Linked DNA regions of Homo sapiens: all the other regions are linked to region 3. The links are contacts of gene promoters, found by promoter capture Hi-C in blood cells and fetal thymus (Javierre and others, 2016). All regions are on one chromosome and are shown on one strand. The core of a region is centred on a gene start or on the middle of the fragment in contact, and the rest is flanking DNA. Distances in the headings are between cores, read along the strand shown.

Region 1 (2,700 bases), core at 177-2,676, 170 kb before region 3:
AGGGAATGCTTATACACTGCTCATGGGAATGTCAATTAGTACAGCCTCTGTGGAAAGCAGTATGGAGATTTCCCAGAGAACTAAAAATAGAGCTACCATTTGACCCAGCAGTCCCATTACTGGGTACTACCCAAAGGAAAATAGATCATTATATAAAAAATATACCTGAATGCATGTATTTATCACAACACTATTATTCACAGTAGCAAAAATATGGGATTAACCTAAGTGTCTTAGGTTAATCAACGAATGATTGGAGGGGTGTGTGTGTATGTCTGTATACACATATATACACCATAGAATACTATTCAGCCATTAAAAAGAATGAAATCGTATCTTTTGCTGCAACATAGATAGAACTAGAGGCCATTATCTTAAGTGAAATAACCCAGAAAGTCAAATATCACATTTTCGCACTTATAAATGGGAGCTAAATAATGTGTACACATGGACATAGAAAGTGGAATAATGGACACTGGAGACTCAGAAAGATGGAGGGCAGAAGGGGGCCGAGGATTGAGAAATTACCTGACAGGTACAATGAACTCTACTTGGGTGATGGTTACACTAAGAACCCAGATTTCACCATTATGCAATCTATCAGTGTAACAAATCTGTACTTGTACCCCCTAAATCTATAAATAAATAAATGAATGAATATTTTAAATAACAATAATAAATGCTGAATGAACACATGGAAGCACATTTCTGAACGTTTGAAATAATTCCTAATTCAATGACATGTTTAAAAATAACAAGCAGCTCAATTTGCATGTAGCATGAGGCACATTAATTAGTCATAGGAGATAAGACTGAAAAGCTTGGATACCCTATTAGTCAGGGTTCTTGAGAGACACAGGACAAATAATTTATTTGTGTATGTATGTATGTATTTATTTATTGTAAGGAATTGGCTCACAAGATAATTGGGGCTGAGAAGTCCCACGATCTGCCCTCTGCAAGCTAGAAACTCAGGAAAGTGTAATTCAGTCTGAGTTCAAAGGCCTGAGAACCAGAGCAACTGATCACGTAAATCCAATTTGAGGGCAAGAGAAGATGAGAGGAGATGTCCAACTCAAGCAGTGAGGCAGGGGAAAAGGGAGGCAAATCTGTCCTTCCTCTATTTTTGTTCTATTCAAGCCTTCAACAGATTGGGTGATGCCCAGTTGCATTGAGAATAGCAATCTACTTTATTAAGTCCAATTCAAATGTTAATCTCCTCTGGAAACACCCTCACAGACGACCCCAGAAACAATGTGAATCTGGGCAGCCTCAAACCGACACAAAAATAAATATAACAGTAGGCTGGGCTCAGTGACTCATGCCTGTAATCCCAGCACTTTGGGAGGCTGAGGCAGGCAGATCACTTGAGCCCAGGAGTTCAAGACCAGCCTGGGTGACACGGCGAAACCCCATCTCTACAAAAAATATAAAAATTAGGCAAGTGTCATGGCGCACATCTGCAGTCCCAGTTATTCAAGAGGCTGAAGTGGGAGGATCTCTTGAGCCCCGGGAGGTCGAGGTTGCAGTGAGCCATGATCATGCCATGGCACTTCAGCCTGGATGAAAGAGGGAGATGCTGTCTCAAATAACGAAACAAAACAAAACACAACTATAACAAAGAGCAATGCAATTTCCCTTTCTCAAACTTTTCTAACAGAGAGAAGCATGTTAATTCTTACTGAGGAAAACCAAGTAATTAATAAAAGGTATTTGGGTGTGCCAGAGCATAGGTATTAGGTGTGACTTTACAAATTATAAATTCCTGGGTAAACCAAGCACCTTTTTCCTTGGATACAAATTTCGATTTAAAAATTTTTTTCTTGTTTTTTTTATACTTTTTCTTCCTCTGAACCTATGGACTATATTGAATTAAATTTTTTTTCAAATTATAGATTTCAAGAAGGGGAGTGATTTGGTCCTTTACAGACGGATGAATGAATTTCTGTATCCAAATGTTGCTTCAGTTAATTATTTCTAGTAATAATATGTTGATTGCAAAGTTTTGAATATCTACAAAGACTAGACTTTGAAAGCTTGCTTTATTTGACTTTGAAAGCCATTCTTTCTCTCATCCTCCCTTTCTCTCCCTCCTGCCCCCCAAAATCTACAACTTCAGTACTTGTGACAGAAATCTAATTGTAAGCATTTACAATTGCTATTGTAATAATAGCATTACAGTCTTTTTTTACAACTTGGGGTCAACTCAGACTTTACTAGACTGAACACTAATCTCAACAGTGCATTGAGTCTGCTCCCATGAGCCAATCTTCCACGCCTCTCTCCATCTTATTTATCTTGCCCTTGCCTTGTTTTGGCATTGGCACATCTTTGAGACTCAGACTCAAACCTCCTATACCTCCTATACCTACACTTCTATTAGTGTCTTTTGATGAGAACTGTATGAGAAAGTTCTGTTGTAAATAGTTCTACTTTATATCCATACATTTTCTTCCTCCTTGACAAATAAATTTGTCTTTACTCTGTAAATATAATTTTATAACTAGTCTTCTCACCTTAGGAGTCCTCCTCAATCCTTTTTCAGAGAAAAGGGGTATGCCAGTTATCAGTTTCTTTATTTTCAGCTCCACACCCACCCCTTTGTCCTATTTGTGATGCTGGAGCTGGACCCTGTGAACATTTCTCCTTTGCCAGTTGGGCATGATGTTAATCTTCACCCATAGAGGGCGCTAGAGGGCC
Region 2 (2,700 bases), core at 100-2,599, 180 kb after region 3:
ATTTCAATCTTAGGACTTCAAAACCTCCCACGGGTATGTAAACTGCCCCAACAAAGAAAGAGGCAAGTATAACAAAAATGGCATAAACTATGGTTTCTGCATTAGGAAGTCTTAAGAAGCATTAAGAATTATTTAAGGCCGGGTGCGGTGGTTCATACCTGTAATTCCACCACTTTGGGAGGCTCAGGCGAGTGGATCACTTGAGGTCAAGAGTTCGAGACCAGACTGGCCAACATGGTGAAAACCCATCTCTACTAAAATACAAAAATTAGCCAGGCATGGTGGCACGCGCCTGTAGTCCCAGCTACTTGGGAGGCTGAGGCACGAGAATCGGCTTGAACCCGGGAGGTGGAGGTTGCAGTGAGCCTAGATCGCACCACTGCACTCCAGCCTGGGGGACAGAGCAAGACTCTGTCAAAAAAAAAAACACAAAAAACAAAAAACCACCTTAACTAGGAAACTGGTGAAAACTAGTCTTCTTAACTAGAAAATTGGCGGGGATTCCCTCAGATTGTACACCGGAAACTCAGGCTAGTCAGGTCTCAGAAATATAGGTCAGATTTCTAGGTCGGCCCGCCTACTCCCCAGCCTTCCAACATTAAGATCTCTCCAGGGCCTTCAAGCTCTGTCTTCATCTCTAAATCTACTCAGGTCTTTCATTCACTGCACAGTTACTTAGTACCTATGGTGTTGTCAAACATAGTGGCTAGAGGAAGGGAATACAAAAGCACAATGTCTGCAGTCAAAGGGGCTCACAGCAAGATTACGGTTTGTAAATACATAATTACTCCACAATGTGATAATCGATATCTTTCAAAACAGAAGGGTTGATTCAATCTTACAGGGAGTGACTGAGTTGGGTCTTACAAAGGATGAGCTTTGCAATTCAAGAAAAAAGAAAAAAAAGGCAGACCATTTCAGCAGAGAGAAAGAGAGAAAGGCGTGGTTAGGCGTGTGCTGGGAGCTGTTTGAGGTCAGTGAAGCTGGGGGTATGAGGAGGGCTCGCACCAGGTGGAGGTTGGGAAACCTCAGAGTTGCGGGAGAAATCAGAATCCAGGTCCCCTCAGCCTCCCTGGGGCCGCGCCCCATAGCCGGTTTCAGACCAGCCGCCCCGGCTCCAAGCCCCACTACAAGCCGGGAAACGCAAAACGGAGGCAACCTGGCCAAAGGCAGAGGCACCCCCCGCAAGACCCTGAGGACCCAAACTGGCCCAGCGGACTGCCCGCACCTTGCCAAGCAGCCGTCTCAGGCCCTCGCAGTCGAACTCCATCTCCAGGCCGGTCCCGAGCTAGGTCCCAGGACTCCAGCCCCCGGACCTTCTTCCGGACTTGCTGCAGGACGGAAGCCGCTGAGGACCAAACTTCCCGGCGGTCCAAGGCCCCGCCCCTTCCCAGACTGGAAATTCCACCCGCATTCAACGCCCCGGGCTCAGCCGCGGCTGCGCCCGGAATCCGGGGCCTCTCCTTCGTGACCCCGGAGTGGGCAAGTGACGAGGGCACGGCCAGAAACGCATTGGCGTCAAGGAAACCACGACCCATCTTCCTGGAAGGAAACTTGGGGACACTTATGAAGAGAAGACTAGGAAGGACCGGAGTAGAAGCACTAAAGGAGGTAGAGGCAACACGCGGTGTTCTTGAAGAGTTTCCAGACAGATGTATTAAATTCCACAGTGTATCAGGAAAGAGCAAGACCGAAAATTGCAGTTGAATTTAGGAAGGAGGCGGTAATGGAACTTCAGAAGCAAAATTTCAGGGAGTAGAAAGGAAAAACAAAGTCAGGAGGAGCCTTGCCGGAGAAGCGGAGATAGGACAGCCCCAGCATGAGGGTGGCTTAGCACGGGGAGAGTGGTTGCTTTTTTTATTTTTTTTAGGGGTGCCATAACAATGTTGGTGGTCAAAGAGAGGAGAAATCCAGGTGAACAAATAGTTGGAAAACAAGAGAGGAGGGAGATGGGTGGATAAGGTCATCTGGAGAAGGTGGGTGAAGAAGAGATGCAGGATACAGTAATTTTCTGGCGTTGTTTGATCTCCTTGGCCCATGGCTGACTTACCTGCCCTGTATCCCTGGCCTGAGCCACTGAAGCGAAAAGTCCCAGGAGCTGGATATTGTAATTGTCAAGAGGTTGGACATATAGGAGAGAGATTGTATTTATAGGAAGATCTGAAGGGAGTGCTGCCCTGACTCAGGAGAAGAAGCTGAAAAGCTGGAAGGAACATTCATTCAGAAAGTTTTTGTTGAGCATCTACTACTTGCCAGCTATTTTTCCAGGTCTCAGGATACAGCCGTGAACAAAATACACTCAGATAGCTGATGTCTTAAGGGTGTCATTCCTTTATTAGCAGAGAGAGAGCAAAACAATAAATGTAATAAGTAAATTATTCAGCATGTCAGAAGGTTGATTACGTGTTGTGGAGAATAAATTCTGAAAAGGGTAGGGAGATTGGGGTAGGTCTCACTGAGGGGTGAGGGAGTAAGTGTTACGAATCCGAGTGCAGACAAAGCAGTAGCCTAAGGCATGTGCCCAGGGAGGCTCAACACAGCAAGGAGGCCAGTGTGGCTGGAGTAGAATGAAGTAAGATGGGAGTGGAGACAAGGAGGCTAAGTCAGGGAAATAAGACGGGGGAACAAGTGGTTTAGAGAAGTGAGTCTTCTAGTGTGAGCCCCAGATCTGCAGCCTCAGGTGCTGGGAGTTGTTAGAAA
Region 3 (2,700 bases), core at 3-2,502:
TTGAAAACAAATACTGACTGGGTGCGGTGGTTCACGCCTGTAATCCCAGCACTTTGGGAGGCCGAGGTGGGTGGATCACTTGAGGTCAAGAGTTCGAGACCAGCCTGGCCAGCAAGGTGAAATACAAAAAAATACAAAAAAATTTGCCCGGCGGCTGGGCACGGTGGCTCAGCACGGTGGCTCACGCCTGTAATCCCAACACTTTGGGAGGGCGGATCACTAGGTCAGGAGTTGGAGACCATTCTGACCAACATGGTGAAACCCCATCTCTACTAAAAATACAAAAATTAGCCGGGCGTGGTGGCGCACGCCTGTAGTCCCAGTTACTTGGGAGGCTGAGGCAGGAGAATTGCTTGAACCCAGGCGGCGGAGGTTGCAGTGAACTGAGATTGTGCCACTGCACTCCAGCCTGGGCGACAGAGTGAGACTCTGTCTCAAAAACAACAACAATAACAACACTACAGGCTATTATAAGAAAAATAAATTATATTTTGGATTTTGAAAAAGGTTCAAATGCAAATACTCTACAAAAGATGGAGTAGGTTGTGTCCCCTTCTGTGAGATATATATCTCTCTCACAAAAAAAAAAATATATATGTAAATTTTTTTTGAGATGGAGTTTCTCTCTTGTTGCCCAGTCTGGAGTGCAGTGGCGCGATCTTGGCTCACTGCAACCTCCGCCTCCTGGGTTCAAGCGATTCTCCTGCCTCAGCCTCCCAAGTAGCTGGGACTACAGGCATGCACCACCATGCCCGACTAATTTTATATTTTTAGTAGAGACGGGGTTTCGCCATGTTGGCCAGGCTGTTCTCAAACTCCTGACCTCAGGTGATCCACCTGCCTCGGACTCCCAAAGTGCTGGGATTACAGGTGTGAGCCACCGCGTCCGGCCATGAGTTATAAATATTAACAATTTCTTGCTGTAAATTGAAAGCATCCTTCGCGTCTTTGCGTTTCATTACCACCCTCTGTTCTCTCAAGAGAAATTCTAACTTTATTTCAGCACTCAGTCCTGAAGTTACAGAAGTTAATAATTTTTTAAAATCCTGCAAACAATGCATGGATATCCCCGTCTTGCACACTCTTTGGGCCAGTCTAGAATTCTTCCCATCAGCATTTCGGTGATCTGGACCGCCGCCACCCACACTGCGCTCCAGGGCAGAAAAGACGCCCCATGCCCGCGCCTGGGCCGGCGGGGGGCGGAGCTTGCGTGCTGACGCATAAGAGCCGAGCGGGGGAACGTGCGTGTCTCGAGTCGCACGGAGGGCAACCGTCGACGGGCTTAGCGCCTCAACTGTCGTTGGTGTATTTTTCTGGTGTCACTTCTGTGCCTTCCTTCAAAGGTGGTGCTTTGTCCCTGTGGGTCATCTGTACTGATTGCGCCAAGCAAAGCATTTGTGAGCGTGTGGTGCTGGGGTGAAAGTGGTGGCTGGGGGCAGGGAGAAATCCAAAAGCCCGCTGGTGCCCCAGCCCTCCCATTGCCTGGTAGACTGGGCCTTGCTTTACCCTCCCCGCATCCTTTGACCAGGAAATTCTTTCTTTGGCTTCCCCCCATCCCCGGCTCCAACATTCTGCAAACTGAAGAGGTAGTTTCTTAGATGTTCAGTGTGGTTAATCCAATGAAATTGCATTATCCCTATCAGGTTCTCCAAATGTCAACTGTCAAGGAGCAGCTAATTGAGAAGCTAATTGAGGATGATGAAAACTCCCAGTGTAAAATTACTATTGTTGGAACTGGTGCCGTAGGCATGGCTTGTGCTATTAGTATCTTACTGAAGGTGAGTGAGAAGCCCATCCTGTGGCTGAAAATCAAGTGAGCACTTCAGAGTGTTGTATATGTCGATGTATTCAGGGTTGCAAGGTTAATCCCTTGAAAGCAATTATGTATCCTTTGACCTTTCCTCCCTCCCTCCCTCCCTCCCTTCCTTCCTTCCTTCCTTCCTTTTTCTTTCTCTCTTTCTTTTCCTTTTTTTTTAAACTTCTTCTTTCTTTTCCTTTCTTTTTTTTTCTGACTTTCCTTTTCTTTTTCTTTTTTTGAGACAGGATTTGTCTGTTACCCAGGTTGGAGTGCAGTGGCGCGATCTTGGCCCACTGCAACCTCCACCTCCCGGGATCAAGCGATTCTCCTGCCTCAGCCTCTTGAATAACTGGGGCCACAGGCATGCACCACCAGGCCTGGCTAATTTTTTATATTTTTAGTAGAGATGGGGTTTCTCCATGTTGGCCAGGCTGGTTTCGAACTCCTGACCTCAAGTGATCCGCCTGCCTCGGCCTCCCAGAGTACTGGGATTACAGGCATGAGCCACCACACCTGGCTGCCAATAGGTATTGTTTTTAACCCTTGTGCCCTCCTCCCTCTCTGCTTTTGGAGTCCCCAGTGTTTATTGTTCTCTCTTTTTTTTTTTTTTTTTTTTTTGAGACGGAGTCTCGCTCTGTTGCCAGGCTGGAGTGCAGCGGCAGGATCTCGGCTCCCGGCAACCTTTGCCTCCCGGGTTCAAGCAGTTCTCCTGCCTCAGCCTCCTGAGTAGCTGGGACTACAGGCATGTGCCACCACGCCCAGCTAATTTTTATATTTTTAGTAGAGACGGGGTTTCATCATGTTGGCCAGGATGGCCTTGATTTCTTGACCTCGTGATCCGCCTGCCTCAGCCTCCCAAAGTGCTGGGATTACAGGCATGAGCCACCACGCCTGGCCTTAAG

The links. The method cuts DNA at HindIII sites, captures the fragments that hold promoters and counts their contacts. A CHiCAGO score of 5 or more calls a contact.
Region 1: a fragment that was not itself captured here is called in contact with the fragment with the promoter of LDHC in region 3 in 2 of 17 cell types (monocytes and M2 macrophages); the score reaches 5.5 in monocytes.
Region 2: the fragment with the promoter of UEVLD here is called in contact with the fragment with the promoter of LDHC in region 3 in 1 of 17 cell types (neutrophils); the score reaches 5.0 in neutrophils.

What each region holds. Positions count from the first base shown.
Region 1 is chr11:18,241,261-18,243,960 of GRCh38, forward strand. The region is part of intron 3 of SAA2-SAA4 (SAA2-SAA4 readthrough); the gene reads right to left. It also overlaps a transcript of SAA2 not described here. Among named protein-coding and RNA genes, the nearest start is that of SAA4, 5.8 kb to the left of the region's middle. RefSeq lists an enhancer at 2,522-2,700 and a silencer at 2,542-2,700. The HindIII fragment of the contact is 1,216 bases long and covers 819-2,034 here.
Region 2 is chr11:18,587,385-18,590,084 of GRCh38, forward strand. UEVLD (UEV and lactate/malate dehyrogenase domains) reads right to left here and starts at 1,350. Exons shown (of 12, transcript NM_001040697.4): 1 at 1,229-1,350. The coding sequence starts at 1,270. RefSeq lists enhancers at 398-507, 908-1,057, 1,098-1,157, 1,218-1,512, 1,418-1,467. The HindIII fragment of the contact is 11,919 bases long and covers 1-2,700 here.
Region 3 is chr11:18,411,066-18,413,765 of GRCh38, forward strand. LDHC (lactate dehydrogenase C) reads left to right here and starts at 1,253. Exons shown (of 8, transcript NM_017448.5): 1 at 1,253-1,343; 2 at 1,644-1,778. The coding sequence starts at 1,653. The HindIII fragment of the contact is 7,298 bases long and covers 1-2,700 here.